6 separate regions of the Homo sapiens genome follow, and all the other regions are linked to region 1. Evidence: promoter capture Hi-C in human tissues and cell types (Jung and others, 2019). All regions are on one chromosome and are shown on one strand. The core of a region is centred on a gene start or on the middle of the fragment in contact, and the rest is flanking DNA. Distances in the headings are between cores, read along the strand shown. Region 1 holds the start of FARP1 (FERM, ARH/RhoGEF and pleckstrin domain protein 1). Region 2 has its middle 54 kb from the start of IPO5. Region 3 overlaps IPO5 (importin 5). Region 4 overlaps FARP1 (FERM, ARH/RhoGEF and pleckstrin domain protein 1). Region 5 overlaps IPO5 (importin 5). Region 6 overlaps IPO5 (importin 5).

The links. The method cuts DNA at HindIII sites, captures the fragments that hold promoters and counts their contacts. A contact is called where the count stands out against the background at its distance.
Region 2: a fragment that was not itself captured here is called in contact with the fragment with the promoter of FARP1 in region 1 in 4 of the 25 tissues and cell types used here (aorta, mesenchymal stem cells, spleen and 1 more).
Region 3: a contact is called between a fragment that was not itself captured here and the fragment with the promoter of FARP1 in region 1, in 1 of the 25 tissues and cell types used here (mesenchymal stem cells).
Region 4: a contact is called between a fragment that was not itself captured here and the fragment with the promoter of FARP1 in region 1, in 9 of the 25 tissues and cell types used here (H1 embryonic stem cells, IMR-90 fibroblasts, dorsolateral prefrontal cortex and 6 more).
Region 5: a contact is called between a fragment that was not itself captured here and the fragment with the promoter of FARP1 in region 1, in 1 of the 25 tissues and cell types used here (dorsolateral prefrontal cortex).
Region 6: a fragment that was not itself captured here is called in contact with the fragment with the promoter of FARP1 in region 1 in 2 of the 25 tissues and cell types used here (IMR-90 fibroblasts and mesenchymal stem cells).

The regions. Positions count from the first base shown.
Region 1 is chr13:98,140,862-98,145,151 of GRCh38, forward strand. FARP1 (FERM, ARH/RhoGEF and pleckstrin domain protein 1) reads left to right here and starts at 2,233. Exons shown (of 27, transcript NM_005766.4): 1 at 2,233-2,631. It overlaps LOC105370328 (a long non-coding RNA gene), which reads right to left and starts at 3,049. Exons shown (of 3, transcript XR_931670.4): 1 at 2,978-3,049. RefSeq lists silencers at 1,684-1,733, 1,974-2,283. The HindIII fragment of the contact is 5,274 bases long and covers 1-4,290 here.
Region 2 is chr13:97,897,860-97,902,021 of GRCh38, forward strand. It overlaps the pseudogene RPL7AP61. Among named protein-coding and RNA genes, the nearest start is that of IPO5, 54 kb to the right of the region's middle. The HindIII fragment of the contact is 4,150 bases long and covers 688-4,162 here.
Region 3 is chr13:97,977,370-97,981,908 of GRCh38, forward strand. The region is part of intron 4 of IPO5 (importin 5); the gene reads left to right. Among named protein-coding and RNA genes, the nearest start is that of IPO5, 26 kb to the left of the region's middle. The HindIII fragment of the contact is 7,265 bases long and covers 1-4,539 here.
Region 4 is chr13:98,287,666-98,291,797 of GRCh38, forward strand. The region is part of intron 2 of FARP1 (FERM, ARH/RhoGEF and pleckstrin domain protein 1); the gene reads left to right. Among named protein-coding and RNA genes, the nearest start is that of MIR3170, 81 kb to the left of the region's middle. The HindIII fragment of the contact is 9,849 bases long and covers 1-4,132 here.
Region 5 is chr13:97,958,738-97,963,052 of GRCh38, forward strand. All of the region lies in intron 2 of IPO5 (importin 5), which reads left to right. Among named protein-coding and RNA genes, the nearest start is that of IPO5, 7.2 kb to the left of the region's middle. The HindIII fragment of the contact is 5,039 bases long and covers 1-3,853 here.
Region 6 is chr13:98,001,036-98,005,475 of GRCh38, forward strand. It overlaps IPO5 (importin 5), which reads left to right. Exons shown (of 29, transcript NM_002271.6): 14 at 1,432-1,556; 15 at 1,649-1,738; 16 at 1,829-2,002. Among named protein-coding and RNA genes, the nearest start is that of IPO5, 50 kb to the left of the region's middle. The HindIII fragment of the contact is 3,648 bases long and covers 828-4,440 here.

The DNA of each region.
Region 1 (4,290 bases), core at 983-3,482:
AAGAGAGTGACTGGGAAAATGTCACTTTTCTAATTTTCTGCGCTTTCTATGATTTTTTGCTTTTATTATTTTTATGATTTTTTTTTTGAGATGGAGTCTCACTTTGTTGCCCAGGCTGGAGTGCAATGGCACGATCTCGGCTCACTGCAACCTCTGCCTCCCGGGTTCAAGCAATTCTCATGCCTCAGCCTCCCGAGTAGCTGGGATTGCAGGCGCGCACCACCACGCCCAGCTAATTTTTGTATTTTCAGTAGAGACGAGGTTTCCCCATGCTGGCCAGGCTGGTTTACAAGTTCCTGACCTCAGGTGATCCACCTGCCTCAGCCTCCCAAAGTATTGGGATTACAGGAGTGAGCCACCGCGCCCGGCCTAATTTTTTCCTTTTAGTTGGGAGGTATGACATAGCACTTTGCTACTACGTGTAGTCCTTGGACCAGCAAGTAACACCTGAGAGCTTGTTAGAAACAGTCTCAGACTTACTGAATCAGAATCTGCATTCCAACAAGATTCCCTGGTGATTCAGGTATACACTAGAGTTTAAAAAGCCGCCTACAGCAACTGTTCTCAAACCTGGCTACACACTGGAATCACCTGCGGAACTTTACTGATGCCTGGGTTAGAATCTTTATATATTTGGCTGGGGTGCAACCAGGGTGTTGTTTTTTAATCGCAGATGATTCCATGAGTTTGAGACCCACTGTCCTAACACTGTGATCCTCCAAGTGTGATCCCAGGACCAGAGCAACATCACTATCTGGGAATTTGTTAGAAATGCAAACTCTCAGGCCCCACCCCAAACCTACTGAATCGGCAGCTCTGGGGATGGAGCCTGACAGTCCTTTATCCCTGCAGGCGATTCAGATGCTTGCTAAGGTTTCATTAGGTAGGTCGGGGATGCGGCCCAAGAATGTTCATTTCTTGACGTTTCCAGGGGCTGCTGGTGGTGGTCGTGGTCTGAGAACCACACTTAGAGAATCACGAGCAGAAAAAAATCTGATCTGTGACACACAGCTGGTTGGGCTGACAGAGCAAAGCCTCAAACCCACCATTTCTTCTCTTCAACCACAGACCACCAAATCTGCAAGTATTACATCTCTGCTCCTCCCCAGGAGCTGCCCACAAGCACCCCCTACTTCCAAGACCCCTGTTCTTGTCTCAACCCGCCCTTCTATCAGGGTCCCTACACTCCACTTCTGCCCAGCTCCTGTCCAGCTGTGAGTTCACTTGAGGCCTCTCCCGTGAAATCTGCCCTCTCGGTCTGAGGTCAGGGAACTCCTGTAAGACGCAAAAGGCCCACGGTTCTGAGCCAGTGGCCTCCGAAGGCCGGAATCCGCTAGCCCCGGGTCTGGCAGAACGTCACTTGCTGCGCCCTAGGCCTCTTCCCGCCACGCTTAGAGAGAGGGACTGGAGGCTCAGAAGGGGGAAGAGAAGGTAACGCGGCAGCTGCTGGGTGGGGACGGTGACTGTGCCCCTAGATCGCTGCCTCCTGGGTCCTGAATCTTGCTCCCCGCTCCGTAGAGTTCCCGAAACCCCGAAGGCTCTCAAGCACCGCAAGCCACTCCTAACCTCCCCCACGCCATTCCCCAAGGGCACTGTCCCCCGAGGCTGGGCGGGCGGGAACTGTCATGGGATTCGCTCGGGCGGAGGGCGCTGGGCCAGGACGTGGGCGGGCGCGGGGTGGCCGCCGCTCCCCCAAGCTTAAGTCCCGCGCAGCCCGGGGTGGTGCCGGAAGCCCGTGCCTGTGGCTCCGGGGGAGGGGAGGGCTCGGTGGGTCCCTGAAGACTGTCCTCCCCGCGCGACGTCGCAGGCGAAGCAGCCCCAGGCAGGACCTCAAAAAGCGACCTGCAGAGTCCGAGCCCCTGACCGCCCGCCTGCCGCTCCCGGCTTCGCCGTGCACACGTCTCCCGCTCTCCCCGGTTCGTTTTTCGCCACAGCTGCTGGATTCGCGTCTCGCCAGTGGCGCTCCCCGCGCTGCATTAGGTAGCGCCGCGCGGAGCCCGGCCCTGGCCGGAAGCCCAAGAGAGGCGCAGATCCCCGGCGGCGCGCTGGGCTCGGGAGGCCCCTGGGCGCACCTGCCCGGGCGGAGCGGAGCGGGGCGGGGCGGGCGCAGGGCGCGGGCCCGGACGCTGGAGGGGGCTGTGGCTCTCCCGCGTCCCCGCTGCTCGGGCTGCGCGGCGCCCGCCTCCCCCCGCCGAGGGGCCGGCCCAGACCCGGGGAGGGGCGGTGGCCACTGCACTTCCCGCTCGCCGGCCTCAGAGGCGGCGGGTCCGGCGCGGGCGCAGCGGTGCGGGCGCTCGGCTGGGGCGCGGGGCGGGGACGCGGCCGCTGCCCGCTTTGCGCCGCTCCTCCCTGCGCGAGTAGCGCTGGCCCCGGCGTCGAGGCGGCCATGGCGACCCGGAGCCCGCTCCCCACCCACCCCGCCTGCTCCGCCCTCCCCTCCGCCCCGCGCCACCTTTGATGGCTCGGACCTCAGCCGGCCACCGCCAGCCCTGCTCGCGCGCCCGCGCCGCCGCCGCCCGCGGGTATTAATAGCCGGCGCCGCCGCGCCCTCGGCCGCCGGGGGCTTGGGAGCCGCCGATCCCGGAGCCCGAGCCGGGAGAGGGAGCCGCCGCAGCCGCCGGCGCTGTGGAGGTAGGAGGCGCGCGGTGAACAATGACCGCGGCGGGAGGGCGGGGGCCGGCGGGGTCCGGGCCGCGGGCGGCAACTTGTGCGAGTCCAGGCTCCCGCAGCGCACGGCCGCGGCTGCGGGCGAAGGTGGGCGCGTGGTCCCCGAGGTCCTGCCCTGCGCAGTCGGGCGGCGGGTCGGGCCCGGGCAGCCCCGGCCACCATCGCAGGAGCTCGGGGGCCTCGGGGCTCCGGGCTGCCCCCTGCGCCCCTCTCCCCTCACCTCCGCCGACGTCGGGCTGCGGGGCTCCGCGCCGGTCCCCGCTCGCCTCCCCCGACCCCGGCGCCCTTCCCCCGTTTCCTTCCGTCCTACCCGCCCGCTGACAGCGCTGGACGCCGCTTCCGGACCTCGGGCCGCAATCTCGGCCCCTGAGGCCGGTTGCGGGCCGGGGAGGTGGCCGCTGGCGCGGATGCCGCCGGGTGCCCGCCGCTCGCCCACGCGCGGCGCGAGGGTTCCCGGCGGGTGACAAAGAGGAACACACCCTCTGCCCAAGTTAGATTTGTGTCTCTCTTTACTGTCTGCCTTTATGCAGGGCAAAGTTTTTTTTATTTTTTATTTTTTAAAGCAAAGGACAGATTGCTTTGCGGCGAGTATTTCCAAACAACTTCTGATTGTGGTTTTACGATTCAAGTTCCGGAAACTTTAGCTGTGTGATCCGGCTGGACCCCGGAGACTCTGTGTGTGTGTGTGTGTGTGTGTGTTTTATTTGAGGGGGGGAAATACGAATTCCCTGTAATGAGTCTGGATCTCGTTTGTGGCAGCTGGAGGCCAGCGGCTGTTGGGGATCGAGTAGGGTTCCCCAGAAAGGAGGGAGCTGAGGCTCACAAAGAAGCGAGGCCCTGGTATCTGATCAGTTCGTGGAGACGTGGGAGAGCCTGCTTGTCATCTGGAACAGTTTAGCAGCCTCGGCCTCCCTGTCTCTCCCAGCCCTGGGGAGTACCGGTGGCCTCTGGCCGTTTCATTATATTGTTGTTAAGGCTCTTCTCCTTGTCAGTTTACCAGGTTTGACCGCCCAGCCCTGGTCTCTGCGTGGAAACCCCCGGGGGCCCCTCTCCTTCCAGTAGGCAACATCTTCAGAGCCAAACCCTGGCCTAGCACTGGCTTCTGTTTAATGTGCTTTGCACGTGGTGACTTGCGGAGCCCATTTCAGAACATCCTCCAGCATTGTCTTGCTTTTCTTATTCAGTCTGAACAAGGAGAGGAGAAAGAAACATCTTTCTGGTCCTGAAAGCTTTAGGGAGAGTTGCCTTAAAAATTGGCTTCGTTGTTCCGGAGACTTTAGGAGGGCCCTGCTTCATCCTATCTTTGGCTTTCTCCCTCCTTCCACAGTGTTCTCGTAGGGGGTTTATTCTCAGTCTTTCGGATGGGTTGGTCTCCAGGATGTGACAGTTTCTGACAGTGTGCTTCATAAGTGGGTACAGCTAGCACATGGCTCACTTTATATTCCTGCAGCATCGTTCTGCAGCAAGGCATCAATATTGGAGTTACTCCAAGCACAACGAAGCGTTTGTGTTTTTAGAATGTCTGGCTAATAGATCTGCTTCTGGGTAAAATAAATAGAAGCATTATTGGGCAATGGCTGCTTTACTGAGGGAATTGTTGGTGGAGACAGTGAGTAGATGCCT
Region 2 (4,162 bases), core at 1,513-4,012, 240 kb before region 1:
GGTAATTTATAAACAAAAGAGGTTTAATTGACTCACAGTTCCACATCGTTGGAGAGGTCTCAAGAAACTTACAATTATGGAGGAAGGAGAAGCTGGCACATCTTACGTGGCAGCAGGCAACAGAGACAGTGTGAGAGAGGAACTCTCAAACACAAAACCATCAGATCACGTGAGAACCGTCAAACACGTATAAAATCATCAGATCTAATGAGAACTGTCAAACACTTATAAAACCATCAGACCTCATGAGAACTCACTCACTAAACAGCATGGGGGAAATAGCCCCCATGATCCAATCGCCTCCCACCAGGTTCCTCCCTCAACACCTGGGGATTACAATTCAAGATCAGATTTGGGCAGGGACACAAAGCCAAACCATATCACGTGGGTTGTCTTTTTACTTTATTGTTTCCTTTGCCATACAGAAGTTTTTTAGCTTGATGTAATCCCATTTGTCTATTTTTGTTTGGTTGTCTCTGCTGTTGAGGTCTTGCACAAAGAATATTTTCCCAGACTAATGTCTGAGACCATTTCCTCAATGTTTTCTTCTAGTAGTTTCACAGATTCCTGTCTTAGATTTAAATATTTAACTCATTTTTGGGCTGGATGCAGTGGTTCACACCTGTAATCCTAGCACTTTGGGAGGCCAAGGTGGTAGGATCACTTGAGCCCAGGAGCTCAAGACCAGCCTGGACAACACAGTGAAACTCCATCTCTACTAAAATACAAAAAAAAATTAGCCAGGCGTGGCAGCGGGTGCCTGTAGTCCCAGCTACTCGGGAGGTTGAGGCAGGAGAATCACTTGAACCCTGGAGGCAGACGTTGCAGTGAGCCAAGATCACACCACTGCACTCCAGCCTGAGCAACAGAGCGAGACTCTGTCTCCAAAAAATAATAATAATAATAATAATAAAAAATATTTAACTCCTTTTCAATTGATTTTTTTATACAGTGAGATGAGGTCTAGTTTCATTATTCTGCATATGGAAATCCAGTTTTCCCAGCCCCACTTATTAAAGAGACTGTCCTTTCCCCCATTGTATATTCTGGGTACCTCTGTGAAAAATGAGTTGGCTATAAGTGTGTGGATTTATATCTGGGTTCTCTATTCTGTTACATTTGTCTATGTGTCAGATTTTATGCCAGTACTATGCTGATTTGGTTACTATAACTTGGTAGTATATTTTGAAGTCAGGTAGTATGATGTCTCTAGCTTTATTCTTTTTGCTCAGGGTTGTTTTGGCTATTCAAGGTCTTTTGTGGTTCCATATAAATTTTAGGACTCTTTTTTCTATTTCTGTGAAGAAGATCAGTGGTATTTTGATAGGGATTGCATTGAATCTGTAAATTTTATTGGGTAGAATTGTCATTTTAATAATATTAAGTCTTCCAATCCATGAGCATGGAATATATTCCCAGTTTTCATGTGTCCTCTTCAATTTCTTTCATCAATATTTGATCATTTTCCTTGTATAGATTTTTCATTTCTTTGGTTAATTTCATTGCTAGATATTGTGCAGTTTAGATAGCTTTATGGATTTGATAAGAAGTTTGTCTTGTTACCACGTCATTGTGTACTATGGACTTGCCCCTTCAGGGTCTGCCCAGAACGTTCTCAAGCCCAGGAATCCCTTTCAGAATCCAGCTCCACCATTCCAGGAAGGGGGAAGAGTGAGGAAGCCTCACTTCTGCAGATGTTCTCTGCCGATTTGGGGGTGGGTATGTGCATACTGACTGCAGTGACCTCACCCACAGATGGGCTAACCAAGCTATAACTGTTTATTAGAAACTAGAATGGTTCCATGAATATGTCATTCACCATTTCTTTAGTAAATTCAGTTTACATCATCATCTGCCTACAAGATAAAGAATACTTTATGCGTAGTATCAGCTCACTACAACCTCTGCCTCCTGGGTTCAAGCGATTCTCATGCCTTATCCTCCCTAGTAGCTGGGATTACAGTGACCAGTTTTCTTAATGAAGTATTTTTCCTACTGGGAAAAAGAAAACCAAGAAAGCTTTCCCTCCACAATTGGTGGGGAGGACGCTCATGTTCTGGCCTTTCTCCACTTTCCTACCTGGCATTCGTCATTCTTGGAACCTCCCGCCCCTTCTTCTGCGTCACTGCTGTTTCTGTGAGCATTATAAGCTTGCAGTTAATTCACCATATGACCTAAAGTCAGAATAATGACATATGGAATTTCAGGCTGATTTGCTGTACAAAGAGATCTAAGCATATGCCTCTTGAGAACAGGCATTGCTGTTACACAGCACCGTGAACACATCCATACTGGATTAATTTGGAATTTGCAAAGTTTAAAAAGAAACCTCTCAAGAACTATGACCATGATTATAAAAGTCAGACCACCAGACTATGATCTGTATCCAAGGAATGGTACTGAAGATTTTCAACCCCACTGAGCCTGTTATACGGATGGCTAACAGAGTCTGGGCTGAAGAAGAGATGTATACATTATCTTTTTTCTGTAGGTTTCTCAGACACCACCTGGGCAGCTGACCTATTTCACTGTCAGAAGCAATGACATGAGTCTCATATGTGATACTTTTCCAACAATTCTAAGCTTCAAAATAAACAATTTTGAAAACCTGCAGCTCAGCACTTGGCATTTCACCAGAACTTTCCCAACTCCCCAAAGCCAAATCTGTTTTTTTATTCTACCATGGAGTGCCTCGTTTATCTTTCCCAGGAGAAAATGTAAAAAAAAAAAACCACCTACAGAATTTGGTTTGGAGGGTATATAATGAACAGATAAAATGATCCTAGAACAGTAGTCCCTTAAAAAAGTTATATCAGGCCTAGATTCTTCTAGGAATATGTATATATAAATAATAATAATCTAGTATCCCAATTTTTATTCTCTTTGATCTCATTAGTAGATTTCTCAAATACCAGGTAAGAGAGAGCAACCCACATAAAATAGACAAACAAAAGACAGCATGTATTTTAGAATAATTACAGAGTTCCGAGTATAAATATCCTAGTGTTGCTAATATCATACTTTCTAATCAACAGAGGACATAAAGATTTAATGCTGTCTTTATAGCACATGAAAAATTTATTTTTGCTTACTGAGGAAAGAAGTATAAAAATTGATTTGATACAGTCCATTTTTAAAAAAAAAGATAAGTCTTTACTATGGAGGAAAATAAAACCTCAATGTTTGGTCATATTTACATATGTTGACTTCTAGAAGTACAGATTTAGACTGACCTTGAATGGCCAGATTTATTTCTGTAAGGCGAATCTGGAAAACTTCTCTACAAATGTAAACCATCAGGGAAACGGGTGGCATCAGGCCTGACAGGGGCTTGTTGATTTTAAATATGGCACATGTGTTATTTTAACCAAAATTTAAAATGCTATCAAAATGTTTTAAAATGTTCAAATCAAAGCTGAATTATTATTTCCAGGCTGAGCACAGTGGCTCATGCCTGTAATCCCAGCACTTTGGGAAGCTGAGGCAGACAAATCACCTGAGGTCAGTAGTTTGAGATCAGCCTGGCCAACATGGTGAAACCTCGTCCCTACTAAAAATACAAAAATTAGCCAGGTGCATGTCTGTAATCTCGGCTACTCAGGAGGCTGAGGCGGAGAACTGTTTGAACTCAGGAGGCAGAGATTTCAGTAAACAAAGATCGCACCACTGCACTCCAGCCCAGGCAACAGAGTGAGACTCTGTCTTAAAAAAAAAAGAAAAGAAAAAAGAAAAGAAATTATTATCATTCCCGGTTAGGCCTACAAAATGGGATGCAATAATCACCCCTGTCTGCTTGTCAAATGCAGCTGTTACATCCAGCTGTGGTGGCAAAGAGTCTTCCTTTATAAGTGTTTGAAAGCATCCCCTGAGATGAACCAGCTCACTCAGACATTGGCCAGTCAAACAGCTACTGAATTGCTTAAAGTGGCCAACTACATTCAGGCACAGAGCAAGAAAAGCAGAGAGCTGCCAGAAAAGGGGTATCCCCACTGAGACTGCCGGTCCTTTAAGCAGGTGTTTATAAAGTCACCACCTTGGTGGAGAACAACAAGGCTCACCTGGGGATGACTGCACATGTGTGGATTCCACTGAGCTGGTTGTTCTTCCTGCTGCCTTGGGCTCTAAAATGGGAGTCTCCTAGTTCATTATCAAGAGAAAAGCC
Region 3 (4,539 bases), core at 956-3,455, 160 kb before region 1:
CCCTACCCCCTCCCACCTCCAGTTTTGTGAAGTTGCCTTTAGGGTTTCTTTCTATGCAGTTTCCACCTTACTCTGGGCTTATAATACACTTACTCTGCTCTTCAGACAAATTTTCTTTGCTCTCTAGAGAATCGTGGGATAAATGGGATGTAGTGGGACTTCCGTTGTTTAACTGGGCCAGTACCATATGTTTAAGTCTTCAACTTCATTAAATCTAACCGTAATCTCTTTTTTTCAAACCACCTCTTGTTCCTGGCCTCCAAAATGTGGAGAGACTTTCAAGTGACAGTATTTTAAATATATCTGTAAGCTCATTTACCAAGTTCACTAGAAGACTGATGTTACATTTTCAGCGTTGAGACCACGATTCTTGTGGGATACTTCCAGGGGAGGGAGAAACTTTCCAGTTTCTTAGCTGACCGCCAAACTTGGTTATATATGGGGTTTTTGCAACCATGCGATTGTAGAGTTTCATAAGATTAAGTGAAGGATGTTCAGCCAGATATTTTTAAATAACAAAAATTAATTTTACATATAGCCAATGAAATTGACTGCAAGTCCTCTTCTGAACTCAGGCCTGAAGACTTTTCCAGGTGTCTTTGAAACGACGGTGGTAATCGTTGTTTTGAATAGATGGTGGATATGCTGGTTACACTTAGGGGTTTTATATTAAGTGAAGTAAACACACCCAAAATTCGGTTCTATGTGAAAAAGCATTTTCTACTATTCACTTCATTAAGTTTTTATTTATTATACATGTAATACATGTTCAGGGTAAAAATTCAAACAGTGAATCGTTTCTTATCCCGTTTCCCAAAGGTGACCGCTTGTGTCGTGAATCTTCGCTGAAAATTTAACATACACATTCATTTTTTACTTAATGGGCTTATAATACTATTTACACTATTTTGCAACTTGAATTTTTCACTCTATATTTCACATTGCCTCATAAGTGAGGTTTTGGTCAGCTATAGATTATACATCATATGGATAGATATTTATATAAGCAACCCTCTATGAAATGGATATTGCGGTTTCCAGTGACCTGCTCTTTTAAAAATAGTACTATGCGCAGGAGTACATGTATACCTATCTTTGCATACTTTGCCAGGTTTGCTTGTAGAATACTGAAAAGTAGCATTTGTTCCTAGAAGTGATATGCATGTATTGCACCAGTTTGCCTTGGGGATATGATGATGCTTTAAAAAAAAAAATTAATGCTTTCTGGTAACTCTTGAGATAATTTTTCGCCAAAATAACTTTTTAATCCCAGCATGAAAATAATAGAAATTTTCATGTGTTACAAAGCAGAACAGCATTGTAATTAGTAAGCTAGTTTAATTCTCTCTGTTCCCTCCAGTTGCTTAAGTCTCTATTGTCAAGCCTAGTGGGGAATCTCTCTTCTATTGAACTAAATACCAGTGTCTGGTTTAGCTTGAATTCCAATTGGTGCCTGTTGTAAATCTTTTATCACTTACATCACTTTGGGGATAGTTATCAGCATTCAGCACATTTTCTCATAAAGAACAATTGGAAATAAGTACTGTTATTCTCTTAGTCTCTTTATTCCTAGTGAAAACATTCAGATACTAGGTTTTTACTTTCTTTGTATATCCTGAGAATGTATTAATATGTAAACTAAGTACTGTGATACAGAATTTTCTAATTTGACCTCCAAAAAAGTAAATGTTAAGAGAAGCTCTCTGGTGCCATAGAATGCCCCTTTCTTTTTTGCCTAATGAAATAAGCGTTTTATAAGAGATCAAATGAAATAAAATTAGCATTAAGTCTGATACAGCAAATATAGAAATATTTTCTATGAACTGAAAAATTGGCCAGGGCTCAGTAAATATCTTTGTAATTTACTCATTCAAAATAAAAATACTTAGTCGACACATAAATACCAAACTGTTGACTAAGGTGACTTTTGTATTCAAATATGGTTATATATTTGGTTGAAATCATTGAAGAGACGTCAAAACTCTAAAAAGTTAAAACTTTTTTCGTCGTATATGCCATTTAGTAGGCTTTATAGTTTATTTCTATTTTTAAAAATCTGTAAGGATATTTCTCTTTAACTTTATAGAAAATGTTTCTCATTTGAAGAAACGTATGTGAATGTCCCTGAGTCTCAGAATACAATAACGTGAATAAACCATTGAATAAATAGTTGACAAGTAGTGCAAAGTACAGTATTCATGGTATTTATCACTAGACATTTTTATATGACATAAGCTTAAGTATTTATTAATCATATGCATGGATTTTATTTTCTTACTAAGGTTCTCCATACAGAATTTGTTCCTCATTGACTCTAATAGAGAATTTCATTGAGTGTTTTTTGTAGAGACAGGGTCTTGCTGTGTTGCCCAGGCTGGTCTTGAACTCCTGGCCTCAAGTGATCCTCCCATCTCCCAAAGTGTTGGAATTACAGGCATGAGCCACCACACCCAGCCCATTGTTGAGATTTCAATAGACAGAGGATAACATTGAAAAATATACCTGATTGTTGAGGAACCAGGGTGTTAATAGATAAAAGTCATGTGTCCCCTCTTTTACTTTTCCTCATACAAGGTAGGCTCACTATAAATATTTATGGAATGAGATGAGTACATATGAGCATTTCTTCTTCGTGGGCAGGGAAGAGGCGGAGGAGAAGTCTTTGCATTGTGTAAATTGTATAAGGTGGAATCAAATCAAATTGAAATTTTGTTTGCCACAACTGATAACATTCACTGAACCTAACTGGACTAGTGCTAGGAATAGTATTAGAAACAGTCTTTATAATTCTTATACACTAATATGCTACGTACTTAGATACAAAGATAAAAAGTTACCATCCCTGTCTGTGTGGAACTTAGACTGTTTAACCATTATCCTTGACCATTGTGATGGTATTGATGTAATACTATATTTGGATTACCACAGTGGAACATATCACATGGAGAGAACCCTCTCTCAACAGACATCATCTGTCACTCGTACTAAACTCTCCCACCATTGGCTTCTAATTCATTATGGAGTAGAGTTTAATATTTGGCCCAATGTTAAGTTGGGTCAATTGTTAAGTCTACTAGAGTTAGCATAGTCACACCAACAGTTCCGCCTGGGCAAGAGTAGGGAGCCTCAGGATTTATATTAGGTTTTCTGACAGTGATAGCCTAGTAGAGAAGTTTATGGCTGGGCGCGGTGGCTCATGACTGTAATCCCAGCACTTTGGGAGGCCGAGGCAGGTGGATCACGAGGTCGGGAGTTCAAGACCAGCCTGGCCAAGATGGTGAAATCCCATCTCTACTAAAAATAAAAAATTAGCCGGGCGCGGTGGCAGGCGCCTGTAATCCCAGCTACTGAGGAGGCTGAGGCAGGAGAATCTCTTGAACCTGGGCAGCAGAGGTTGCAGTGAGCCGAGATCGCACCACTGCGCTCTAGCCTGGGCGACAGAGTGAGACTCTATCTCAAAAAAAAAAAAAAAAAAGTTTTTGCAAAAACTTGATTTAGACCACTGAAAATTTAAGTGTTAAACATTGATCACATTACCAGTGTTTAAGTGGCTAAGCTGGGTGCTTTTTATTGTATAGTGAGATACTTTTTAAATGAAAACATACTACTGGTATAAGGAGTTGCTTTGGTAAATATTAAGTGAAAAGTCTCAAAGGTACATAACCATTTTTGCATTCAGCTTGTGAATATCTTTACATAAATTATCTCTTCTGGATAAATAAATTCAAACCATCTTCTCTCCTCGGCTGTGAATACTTTTTGGCACAGTTTTCAGCATTGTTAAGATCCTATGTGCTTTTTACTAGAATGGGAACTTGAGGTTATCAGAAGATCTTGAATTCTCCTTTCCCCCAAAATCTGTTCTTCCCCAGACAGATATGTTTGAAAAGTTTGAAACCTGTGTAGCACTGCATAAATAGAACTGGTTGTTTAATGAAGTGAAACAGAGCTTTCAGTACCAGAGAGATTTTGAATATGGTTGGCCTTAGAGGACCAGAGTTCTGTCTGCTATTCATTGTCTATGATCTTAGGCAAGTCATTAACTTATAAGCCTTTATTTCCTTATCTGTTAATATCTCATGGATGCCATGGGGCACTTAGTAAAAGGTTTAAGCTAGATGTGGATTCAAAATAGCCTTGTTTTTCCTCCCTTGTCACTTTGTTCCAGAGAAGCCACGTATAGAGGTATGGTAGCAATGAGAGCAGGTAAGCTCTAAAGAAATCAATGTTACCCACATTAGACTCAACTCTAAATTGCTAGATAAGAATGGATTATCTATTTACTAAGAGGCTTCTTAGAGTAAGCAATTCCAAGTGTACTTAAATTGATTTCTTTTCCACAGTGAACAAATACCATCAGAATTCTTGCATATGAATCTGCACTTCTCTGGACAGCATATAGTTGGTTCTTGTTTTTTAATCTGTTCTGATCATCTGTCTTTTAATTGGTGTCAACTTTTTATTGTTAACCAATTTGTTGTGATTTTACATTATTAGCAGAGGATAGAGTGTCCTGAGTCACAAACCTCTTGCTAATAG
Region 4 (4,132 bases), core at 309-2,808, 150 kb after region 1:
ACAGTTGATTTCAATTTTCTTTAGCTCATTTTTAATTCTCTTCATGCATAATCTTTAAAAAAAAATCCAATATGATGTTTTGTGCTGTGCCGTTTGACAGCTTGAAAACTGGTTATGCCATGTCCCAGGCACTTCTTTTTTTTTTTTTTTTTTTTGAGACGTAGTCTCGCTCTGTCACCAGGCTGCAGTGCAGTGGCACGGTCTCGGCTCACTGCAACCTCTGACTCCCTGGTTCAAGCGATTCTTCTGCCTCAGCCTCCCGAGTAGCTGGGACTACGGGCACCCACCACCATGCCCGGCTAATTTTTGTAATTTTAGTAGAGACAGAGTTTCACCATCTTGGCCAGGATGGTCTGGATCTCCTGACCTCGTGATCCGCCCACGTCGGCCTCCCAAAGTGCTGGGATTACAGACGTGAGCCTCCGTACCCGGCCCCACACACTTCTTTTGATGATAGGAATACATGGGTGAACAAAACCCATGCAGTCCCTGTTCTCATGGAGCTTAGGGTCGCTGGGGGAGGACTGACATTCAATTAGTAAGTAGCACAATAAAGACTGAGGAGGGATGGTATAGGTTTGCTTATGCATAGCTAAGTGTGTTATTCTTCAGTGGTTTTCCTTCATCTTTGGGATAAAATCTAAGCTTCATAGCACGTACATATGGCTATTCTGGAACTGACGGGAGCCTCTTGATATACTTACAGATCCTCTCCACGCTCCCGCCCCATGTCTGCGCTTCATTGGAATGCCTTGGCCTCTTGCTTCTTGAACAGACTTCAGTATGAGCCAAAGCACTATTACTTCCTTGGAGTCTTTCCTGCTTTCTTATTCATGATATTTCTCCTTGGTGCGCTTGTGGCCTCACTGTGTCCCATCACCAACCCCTTCACTGTGTAATTTTGTATTGTCTCCTTTAAATAGATTCTGAGGCCCTTGGGCCCAGAAATGCGGTTTTCTGTCATTTTATCCTTAGTGTCTGTCTTAACATCTGATAGGTGCTGGAGGAGTCTCATGGTTAGTGGTGCCTACAGACGGATCATTGTTTTGATGGCGGTAACAGCACCTGGGTTCCACAAGTGTTTGAACGAATACACACACCCCTGCTGGATATCCAGTGAATGAGATTTCAGCTTTGGGCGAGATGCTGGCCTATGTGGTGTTTAAATGTTTTGAAAGTTATCACTGCTTTTTTTCTATTACATAATTATTTATTTTTACCAAGCTCTCAAATGTCTTAATTGTGCCAGTCATATGTTATGAATTCTATTTCTGGGTATTGTAGGAACAGCAGTTCCTATGGCTTTTTTTTTTTTTTTTCTGTGTATGAGCAATTCGACTCAGTGGGATGATATTTTCTTTTATAACTCATTAATGTTTGCGATACCGTGTACTCAAATATTCAATGTCAGCTGTCAGCTACCATTGGGATCCATCCCACAGACCATCAAAATGTACTTTTGGGCTGAATTAGTCCTATGCCAAGACTTGTGGGTGGATCCAGCAGCAGTTGGGAACCACGTGCCAGGCCTGGTGTATGTGCTCACGGACACATTAATCCGATCATACCTTTCTTCCCTTAAAGAAACAATTAATGTTAATGTTATTGTACTTTGGCTAATGCAGAGTCTCAAAGTTAAATTAAGCACAACATAGGAAATTCTAAGTGGTTACCCGTAAAATGGAAGACCGTTTCATTCCCGCTGAGTGCAAATCTGGTGTCTCCGTATACTCAACATGAATGGCCGTAATACTTAATGCTTTAAAAAATGCATCTATTTCCAATGATAGATGAAAAGCATTTATTTGAGCCATCCGCATGCAGTGAACAATCTGTAAAATATTTGGTTATCTTCAGCTGGGCAGCATTCTTCCAGCTCGTATTGAGCTTGACTACGTCTAGATCTCATGCAAGGCATCCGGGCCAGCCATGAAGGAGGATGAGGTCCCTGCTCTCAAGGAGATCACTGTCTCGATACACAGATGCTCAGAGCCCTGCAGGACCCCTCTGGCTCTTGGTGTGGACTGTGCACTGCATGCTATTTCTCTTGAAAACTCTAGAGAACTGCTCGCTGTCCTGTGGGTTAAGTCACTTAGTGTAATCCCGAGGGAATAAGCAGACGCCCTCCCGAAAGCCTGGCATCTGGGACTGTCAACATTGATTACTACAGGGACCCAATGAGATGGAATTAAAATTAGCCCATACAGAAAAAGAGCACAGGAACTGTCAGGGAGATAGGAACATTTGTCCTGGAAATACCTGGGTTTTTGAATAGGTTTCCTGATGCAAAGGTCAGTGTTTCATACACACGCGTACTTCTCCCCACAACACCCCCATTTTACACCTTTCAGTACAACTCTGATTTAGAGAAGTGTGGTGGAGATTTATCTTTTTTTTTTTTTTTTGGTGTTGGGTGGCGAGGAGGGAGTGGTGAGGTTGGGAAGGGCAGTCCGTCATCCCCAAGCCTTACTTCTGGGGGATTTCCCCCTTGTAGAGGGCTGGGAACTTACGTTCCAGTACAGAAAGACAGGAAAAGACCTAACTACATCATATGCCAGGTGGTACTAAGTACTACAAAGAAAAACAAAGTAAGGGAGGAAGGAGAGAGCATAATGGTGTGCAAATGGATATATACATGTTCATATTTTATAAAACTTGTCAGACAGGCCTCTCTGAAAAAGTGACATTTAGCAGAGACCTATGGGAAATGACCTCAAAAATGACTTCCCCATTTCCCATGGGTCTCTGCTAAATGTCCAAGTTTTAGAGAGCAAAAAGAGAACGTGCAAAGGCCCTGAGGTAGAGAGCATGTTCTGTGTCTTTAAGGAACCGCAAGGTGTCCTCCATGGCTGTAGAGAACAGGTGAGGGACAGTGTGGTATAGGGTTGGATGCCCAGAGAAATTGCAGTAGGCCAGGAACAGTTCAGAGTTTATTCTGAAGGACGGATCTGACCTGACCTTGCAAAAGGACCACATTGGCTGCTGAGTTGGGACAGTAGTGGCCAGGAGACCAATGGCGGTGGCTTTGAGTAACATCGTACTGGTGTAGGTGGTGGGAAGTGCTGGGGTTCCAGCTACATTTTGACAGTAGAGCTGACAAGATCTCCTAAAGAATTGGGTATTGAATGTGTGAGAAAGAGGAGTCATGGATGACTCCAAGGTTTTTGGGCCAAGGAGCTGGCAAAATGGAGTTGCCGTTTTCAGAAGGGAAAGACCAAGGGGGCAAACACATGAAAAGAACATTAGCCCCTGAATTTTAGATACTTTCTTTGCTCCATATGAAAGGAACTTGAAATTTGAAAGGATGCACATCTCTGATTATATAAGTAAATATTACAGTTGCCTAGTTCTTGAGATTACAGTTGATCCGTGAACAACGCAGGTTGGGGTGCCCAACCTGTGCAGTCAGAAATCCACGTATACCTTTTGACTCCCCAAAAACTTAACTACTAATAGCCTACTGTTAATCAGAAGCCTTACCAATAACATAGTCAATTAACATGTTTTGTATGTTGTATGTATTATATACTGAGATTCCTACAGTAAAGTAAGCTAGAGTCAAGGAAAATGTTATTAAGAAAATCATAAGGAAGAGAGAATACATTTACGATTTGTTTAATGGAAGTGGATCATCCGAAAGGCCTTCCTCCTCATCGTCTTCATGTTGAGTGGGCTGAGGAGGAGGAGGAGGATGAGTGGCTGGTCATGCTGTCTCTGGGACGGCAGAGGCAGAAGAAAATCCACATGTAAATGGATCCTCACAGTTCAAATCCATGTCGTTCAGAGGCCAAATGTATTTGGGTCTGTGAAACTGGCCTTTGCTTTCCATCGTGGGCAGAGTTAGCTGATTATAAAATCATTCGTTCAGCAGAACTTGGTGGTTGGATTCCAAACCTGCAAAGGAACTATCATGAGGGGCAAGTTTCTGCCAGCGGGTATATCCCATCCCAGCAACACTGTTCTGAGCCCCTCAGCAAGATTCCATGTCCTGGTGCAGGGAGTCACTCCTTGTACTCCCAACAAGCTAGCCAGAGTACTCCTGCCCCGTCAGCCTCCCTCCCCACCTTCTCATCACTGTTTGCTGTCTCTCCTTTGAGCGCCTCCAGGTCTCTAAGTCTTTGGTGTAAGTGGC
Region 5 (4,315 bases), core at 84-2,583, 180 kb before region 1:
TTGATTGCTACCACCTCAGTCCAAGCCCCATCCCACCCCACCCCACACTGCAGCCAAGATGATCTTTGAAAGTTGAAAGCTTCTCAGGTCAGATCTCTTTCTTAACCCTCCACTAGATTCCCCTTTCCCCTAGGACAAGTCACACTACAAGAGGCAGGACACGGTGGCTCACACCTGTAACCCCAGCACTTTGGGAGGCTGAGGCAGGTAGATCACCTGAGGTCAGGAGTTCAAGACCAGCCTGGCCAACATGGTGAAACCTCGTCTCTACTAAAAATACAAAAATTAGCCAGACGTGGTGGCGGGCACCTGTAATCCCAGCTACTCGGGAGGCTGAGGCAAGAGAATTGCTTGAACCTAGGAGGCAGAGGTTGAAGTGAACTAAGATCACGCCACTGCACTCCAGCCTGGGTGACACAGCAAGACTGTGTCTCAAAAAAAAAAAAAGAGAGAGAACAAGTCACACTACAGAACCATCACAATGCCCTAGTAGCAGAACATGCTGCTGAACTATCAGGGTGCCCTGGGTGATCTGGCCTCTGCTGGCCTCTCAACCCTCTCAGCTTTAGCTATCCCCTTCTTTCCTTTCTGGAATACCCCAACTTGTTTTTGCCTCTGTCCTTCGTATTGTCACCTCTGCTTGAGAGAGCCTCCTCCATTTCTTTATTTGCCTCATCTTTCATTGTCACCTCCTCTCAAAAGACTGTCCCGGCAGGGCACGGTGGCTCACGCCTATAATCCCAGCACTTTGGGAGGCCGAGGCGGGTGGGTCACAAAGTCAGAAGTTCAAGACCAGCCTGGCCAACATGGTGAAACCCCGTCTCTACTAAAATACAAAAAACAAAAATTAACCGGGTGTGGTGGCGGGCGCCTATAGTCCCAGCTACTTAGGAGGCTGAGCCAGGAGAATTGCTTGAACCCGGGAGGCGTAGGTTGCAGTGAGCCTAGATAGCGCCACTGCACTCCAGCCGGGGTGACGGACTGGGACTCTGTCTCAAAGAAAAGAAAGACTGTGTCCCTAGGGTATGACCCCACTCCAAATCCAGTCATTCGTGATCCCATTATCTTCTTTTTTCACCTATAACTGTATGCAAGTATCTTATCAGTTTACTTGTTTATTATCTGAATTCTTTCAAAAGAGCTAAGCTCCCTGAAGGTGGGAACCCTGTCCGCATGCTCACCGTGGAATCCCCACAGCCTAGCAGCACCTCCCACAGAGGGGTGCCTAATATTTTTCTAAACAAATGAATGAAGAAAATGTTCATTAAACAAATACTACTGCAGTTAAATGTGGCATCAAGCAGTACTACACATAGGATGCATGGAATTGAAGCCTATGAACCATTATAAGGTCCCTTTCATTTGTTCCTCATTAACTGTGGATGACTAAAAATCCATGCTGCCAATAGCTCCAACTATGAGATGCAGATCGATGTCACAATTCAGACTCCATTATGTATGTCCTCACAATGCAGGAGGTGAAATGTGTATGTCATGTGTCCAAATTGTAAGATACTTGCTGTAAGTAGCAAAAAGATGGGAAGGAAAGTCTACAGACCAAATCATATCTGAATCTCCCCATTCTCCCTCTCCACAAATATTGGTTTAGGAATTCTCCGAAGTTTGAAGGTTATGAATGGTTATCACTCAAGGATTCAGAACTAAGGTAAAAATACTGTGAATGATAGGGGGAAAAAATCACTAATTGAGGTCTAAATCAATATCCTTCAGCTCTCTAAGGAAATGTATTTTTAATATAATAGCTTTATTGAGACATTCATACACCATAAAGTCCAAATTTTACTTTTTATTTTATTTATTTGGTTTTTTTTTTTTTTGAGATGGAGTTTCACCCTTGTCACCCAGGCTGGAGTGCAATGGCATGATCTCGGCTCACTGCAACCTCCACCTCCTGGGTTCAAGCAATTCTCCTGCCTCAGCCTCTTGAGTAGCTGGGATTACAGTCGCGCACCACTACGCCCAGCTAACTTTTGTACTTTCAGTAGAGACAGCGTTTCACCATGTTGGTCAAGCTGGTCTCGAACTCCTGACCTCAGGTGATCCACTCGCCTGAGCCTCCCAAAGTGCTGGGATTACAGGCATGAGCCACCTCACCCAGCCTAAAGTTCAACCTTCTAAAGTGTACAATGGAGTGTTTAGTATATTCAGTGGGCTGCACATTCATCACTATCACCCTTTCCTCACCCTAAAAGAAAACTCCATACCTGCTAGCACTCACTGATTCCCCTACCCACCCCATGCCCAGGCACATGGCAAGCACCAATCTACTGTCTATGGATGTGCTGATTCTGGACATTTCCCATAAGTGGGACCAAAAAAATGTGTGGTCTTTTTGTCTGATTTCCTTCAGGCAGTCTAATGAGTTTAAGGTTCACTCATGTTGTTACATGTATCATTACTTTATTCTTTTATTGCGAAGTAATATTTCCTTGTATAGTTAGAAGACATTTTGTTTATCCATTCACCAGTGGATGGACAGTTGAATTGTTTCCACTTTTTGGCTGTGGTGAATAATGTTGCCATGAACATTCATGTACAAGTTTTTGTGTCAACATATGTTGTCTTTTCTCTTGCACATATACCTAGGAGTGAAATTACTGAGTCAAATGGTAACTCAGGCTGGAGTGCAATGGCACGATCTCGGCTCAACGCAACCTCTGCCTCCCAGGTTCAAGTGATTCTCATGCCTCAGCCTCTCGAGTAACTGGAATTACAGGCATGCGTCACCACACCCAGCTTATTCAGACTGTTTTCCAAATTGGCTGTAACATTTTATGTTCCTATTAGCAAAGTATGAGCGTTTGAATTTCTCCACATTCTTGTCAACACTTGCTGTTGCCTTTTTTATTAAAGCCATTTTATTGGGTATGAAGTGGTAACTTACATTGTGGTTTTGATTTGCATTTCTCTAATGATGAATGATGTTGCACATCTTTTCATGTGCTTATTGGCCATTTGTATATTTTCTCTGGAGAAATGTCTATTCAAATGTTTTACCCATTTTTTTAATTGGGTTGTCTTTTTTTAATTGAGAGTAGGGCTTTTTAAATATTCTGGATATAAGTCCCTTATAAGACATATGATTTGTGGCCAGGCGCAGTGGCTCACACCTGTAATCCCAGCACTTTGGGAGACCAAAGTGAGTGGATCACTTGAGGTCAGGAGTTCAAGACCAGCCTGGCCAACACGGCAAAACCCCATCTCTACTAAAAATACAAAAATTAGCTGGGCGTGGGGGCGCACACCTGTAATCCCAGCTAATCTGGAGGCTGAGGCAGGAGAATCACTTGAACCTGGGAGGCAGAGCCTGCAGTGAGCTGAGATCATGCCAATGCATTCCAGCCTGGGTGACAGAGTGAGACTTTGTCTCAAAAAATATACATTATTTGCATATATTTTCTCCCATTCTATGAGTTGTCTTTTCTCTTTCTTGATGGTGTCCTTAAAAGCACAAAGGTTTTAATTTTGTGAAGTTCAATGTATCCATTTTTCTCTTCTGCCTTTTGTGATTTTGATGTCATAGCTAAAAAATGATTGCCTACCCCAAAGCGATGAAGATTTAGTCCTATATTTTCTTGTAAGAATTTTATAGTTTTAGCTCTTACATTTAGTCTATGATCCACTTTGAAGTTTTTATGACGTGAAGTATGGGTCCAGCTTCATTCTAACGCATGTGGATATCAAGTTGTACCGGCAACAATCTTTCCACAGTGAACAGTCATGGCTCCTATATTAGCCAGGGTCCTCAAGAGAAAATGAACCAATAAGAAATAGATGGATGGGCACAGTGGCTCACACCTGTAATCCCAGCACTTTGGGGGGCCCAGGCAGGCAGATCACTTGAGGTCAGGAGTTCGAGACCAGCCTGGCCAACATGGTGAAACCCCTGTCTCTATTAAAAATACAAAAAATTAGCTGGGTATGGTGAGGCACATCCGTAGTCCCAGCTGCTCAGGAGGCTGAGGCACAAGAATCACTTGAGCCTGGGAGGCAGAGGTTGCAGTGAGCCAAGATTGTGCCACTGCACTCCAGCCTGGGTGACAGAGTGAAACTGTCTCAAAAAAAAAAAAAAGGTAGATAGATAGATTTATTTTAAGGAATCTGCTACATAATTATGAGAGATGGAAAGTTCAAATCCTGCAGGGCAGGCTAGCAGGCTGGAAATTCAGGTTTGAGTTGATGTTGTAGTCTTGAGTTTGAAATCTGAAGGGCAAACCAGCAGGTGGAGATTCGGGCAAGGTTTCTGTGCTGTGGTCTTGTAGCAGAATTGTTTCTTCCCCCAGAAACCTCCATC
Region 6 (4,440 bases), core at 1,402-3,901, 140 kb before region 1:
CTGGAGGGCAGCTGTTGTTGTTGACACAGGATTTCGCCATGTTGCCCAGGCTGGTCTCAAACTCCTGGCCTCAAGCAGTCCTCCTGCTTCAGCCTCCCAGAGTGCTTAGATTATAGGCATGAGCTACCACACCTGGCCATCCTTCCTTTTTATTTCTATGAATATTTCAGTTACCTTTGTACCTGTAATATATATATCAATCCCAAAGTTTATTGTTGTATGTGTTTTATTTTCATTTGTGTTTTTTAATTATAAAGTTAATGTGTTCTTTTGTTAAATTAAAATTCAGAAGTATTAAGTTAGAAATTTGTTTGTTTTTTGGTGGAATCTCGCTCTGTTGCCCAGGGTAATGTGATCTCAGCTCACCGCAGCCTCCACCCACTGGATTCAAGCGATTCTCCTGCCCTAGCCTCCTGAGTAGCTGGGACTACAGGCACATGCCACCACGCCCAGCTATTTCGAGACAGAATCCCACTCTGTCAAACAGGCTGGAGTGCAGTGGTGCAATCTTGGCTCACTACAATGTTCACCTCCCAGTTTCAAGCAATTCTCCTGTCTCTGCCTCCCAAGTAGCTGGGATTACAGGCATACACCACCACACCCAGCTAATTTTTGTACTTTTAGTGGAGATGGAGTTTCTCCATGTTGGCCAGGCTGGTCTCAAACTCCTAACCTCAAGTGATCCGCCCACCCTGGCCTCCCAAAATGCTGGGATTACAGGCATGAGCCACTGCACCCGGCCTAATTTTTGTATTTTTAGTAGAGACGGGGTTTCGCCATGTTGGCCAGGCTGGTCTTGAACTCCTGACTTTAAGTGATCCACCCGCCTCAACCTCCCAAAGTGCTGGGATTACAGGTGTGAGCCACCGCGCCTGGCCTGATACATACTTTTAGAATCAAGTAGTCACGCACTTTTTCTGTTCATTTTTCTAAAAAGTAAATATACAAATGTTTTGTTTTTTGTTTTTTTTGTTTGTTTGTTTCTGTTTTTTTTTTGAGACAGAGTCTCGCTCTTTCGCCCAGACCAGAGTGCAGTGGCGCGATCTCGGCTCACTGCAAGCTCCGCCCCCCCGGGTTCACACCATTCTCCTGCCTCAGCCTCCCGAGTAGCTGGGAATACAGGCGCCTGCCACCGTGCCCGGCTAATTTTTTGTATTTTTAAGTAGAGACGGGGTTTCACCACGTTAACCAGGATGGTCTCGATCTCCTGACCTTGTGATCCGCCCGCCTCAGACTCCCAAAGTGCTGGGATTACAGGCGCGAGCCACCGCGCCCGGCCTATACAAATGTTTTTATATTATATATACATATACCCTTTTCAAAAAAGTTTTGTTACTCTTTTCCAAATAAGAACTTTTATACATCTCCCTCTACCAGAATGACATGTTTATAGTGTGTAATTGCTATTCCATCTGTAATTTTTTTCGGTAGCTGACTGGAAATACCGGCATGCAGGATTGATGGCCTTATCTGCCATTGGTGAAGGGTGCCACCAGCAAATGGAAGGAATTCTAAATGAGATCGTAAATTTTGTTTTACTTTTTCTCCAGGATCCTGTAAGTACCAGTAAATATTTGATTCAAAATGATTAGTGTAGCTTCATGTGGAAACCTTCTTGCTTTTACTAATGAAAGGGAACATTTTCCAGCATCCAAGAGTAAGGTATGCAGCCTGTAATGCCGTGGGACAGATGGCTACAGATTTTGCACCTGGTTTCCAAAAGAAATTTCATGAGAAGGTAAGTAACAAGTCCTCAAACACTTAAATCAGACTTTAGGAAGAAGGGTGGACATTTCAACATGTGTGCCCATTTGGTTTCATTTCACAGGTGATTGCAGCTCTGCTGCAGACCATGGAAGACCAAGGCAATCAACGTGTGCAGGCCCATGCAGCTGCTGCCCTCATTAACTTTACTGAAGACTGTCCCAAGTCACTACTTATTCCATACTTGGATAATTTGGTGAAACATCTGCATTCCATTATGGTACTGAAGCTTCAAGAGGTAAGTTTTAAGATCTGTAGGCTGCTTTCTGTTTGTAGATTAATTTGGGTTGATTTGATGGGTAAGAACTGGAGAAAGAGGGACTTGCAGCATGACCATAAAGAATATAAAGTACAAAAACTGAGGAGGCTATTCGGAGTTGTGGAATGATGAGTAGAGAAATTCAGATTGACCAAAATGTGGGCTGATAATTGGAATTGGGAAAGATACAGCTAAAGGTCAGGTAAAATCAGTGTATATGGATCACCCTGAAAATAAGGCAGAGAAGTTTTTGAACTCTGATTTATGTAAAGTGTGAAAAACCATTCTGTGTTCTTAAATGCTGCAGGAAATTATCATATGGTAAAAAATTAGTGTGGTAGCATTGGGTGAGGCATACACAAAAAAGGGAGAAGATTTAAGGCAAGACCATCATACTGTCATCGTCCAGGGAGCTTAGATAGTAATAGTGGAAGAGGTGATTCTAAAAGACATTTCATGGGAAGCATTAACAGTTTGTTTCTGGCAGTTTGAATTTTAAAAGATGAAAGGGCCCGGCACGGTGGCTCATCCCCGTAATCCCAGCACTTTGGGAGGCTGAGGCAGGTGGATCACCTGAGGTCAGGAGTTCGAGACCAGCCTGGCCAACATGGTGAAATCCCATCTCTCCTAAAAATACAAAATTAGCCGGGTGTGGTGGTGCACGCCTGTAATTCCAGCTACTCGGGAGGCTAAGAGGAGAATCACTTGAACCCGGGAGGCAGAGGTTGCAGTGAGCTGAGGTGGTGCCACTGCCCTTCAACCTGGGCAACAAGAGCAAAATTCTGTTTCAAAAAAAAAAAGATGAAAGAGAAGAAATTAAAAAACATTGAGTATTCTAACCAGAGTGGCAGAAATACAGAAGTTGTAGAAGCAACATCATTTTTGAGTATCCAAGTAAAAATGATTATAGTTACAGCTGAAATAAGGGATGCAACCTGAAAACAATTGAATGATGTTAGTCCAGCACAGTGTGTGAGAGATGTAGATGCGAAAAGCAAGGATTTTAGCCCAGTTTATTGTCAAATGTTTATTGTCAAATGCAATGAAAATGGATTACTACTATAAAAATGAAATGAATAGAAGGCATAGAAAATAAAAGATAAACCTGCTCTCAAATTGCTATAAAAGTTTCTAATGCCCTCAATTCCTATACTTAATATGAACTGGTAGCAAATAGTTAACAAACCACAGTTTGCATAGCACTGGCAATTGGTCAGAGAGCAAGATAAACAAGAAATGCAATGTCTCAGAAGCCAAAGACAGAGGACTTATAAACAAAGGCCCAAGTGCTCAGTATCAGATGACAGCAGACTAAGAATATGATAAAGGAAACATTCGTGTGCCCGAAGGCAGACCGAGGTGGACCCAAGTTGAAGGCAGATTGGTTGGTTGGTTAAATCAGTAATGGATGGATCCAACATGACTTTACAGGTTTGGGTGGATGGCTGTGGTATGATAGTCTGTGTGTACCCCTGCCCTTCCTTCCTGCAGTGAGGCACTATATGGGTTTTTAAAGATAAGTGGAAGGAGTTGTTGGGATGGGATGGTAGGAGGACAGTGTTCACGAGGAAGAGTTGTACGAAGAGAAGGTAGCCTAGCAGAGGAGGAAAGACATTTCCTCTGGGGCCAGCAGCACAGTCCACACTAAACATGGAGCAGAGGTTGAGGTACAGAAGCAGAAAGTAAGATGGCTTTCTCAAGACATAGTTGAATGTGTAACACAAGTTAAAGAACTCTGCTGAGAGTGTGGGTGTAATTGACGTGGGGAATTATGAAAATCTGGAGTAGTAACTGGCTCAGGTTCATATGAGTTAATATTTTATTTTATTTTATTTTATTTATTTATTTATTTATTTTTATTTTGAGATGGAGTCTCGCCCAGGCTGGAGTGCGATAACGCACTCTCTGCTCACCGCAACCGCCGTCTCCCGGGTTCAAGCCATTCTCCTGCCTCAGCCTGCCGAGTAGCTGGGATTACAGACGTGCACCCACCACACCCGGCTAATTTTTGTATTTTGAGTGGAGACAGGGTTTCACCATGTTGGCCAGTCTGTTCTTGAACACCTGACCTCAAGTCATCCGCCCACCTGGGCCTCCCAAAGTGCTGGGATTACAGGTGTGAGTCACCGTGCCTGGCTTCTTTTTTTTTTTTTCCCCAGACAGAGTCTTGCTCTTGTCAACCCAGCTGGGATGTAGTGGCGCAATCTCGGCTCACTGCAACCTCTGCCTCCCCAGTTCAAGCAATTCTCCTTCCTCTGCTTCCGGAGTAATGGGATTACAGGGGTGTGCCACCACACCTGGCTAATTTTTATTTATTTATTTATTTATTTATTTATTTATTTATTTATTTAGTAGAGACAGGGTTTCACCATGTTGGCCAGGCTGGTTTTGAACTCCTGACTCAGGTGATCCGCCTG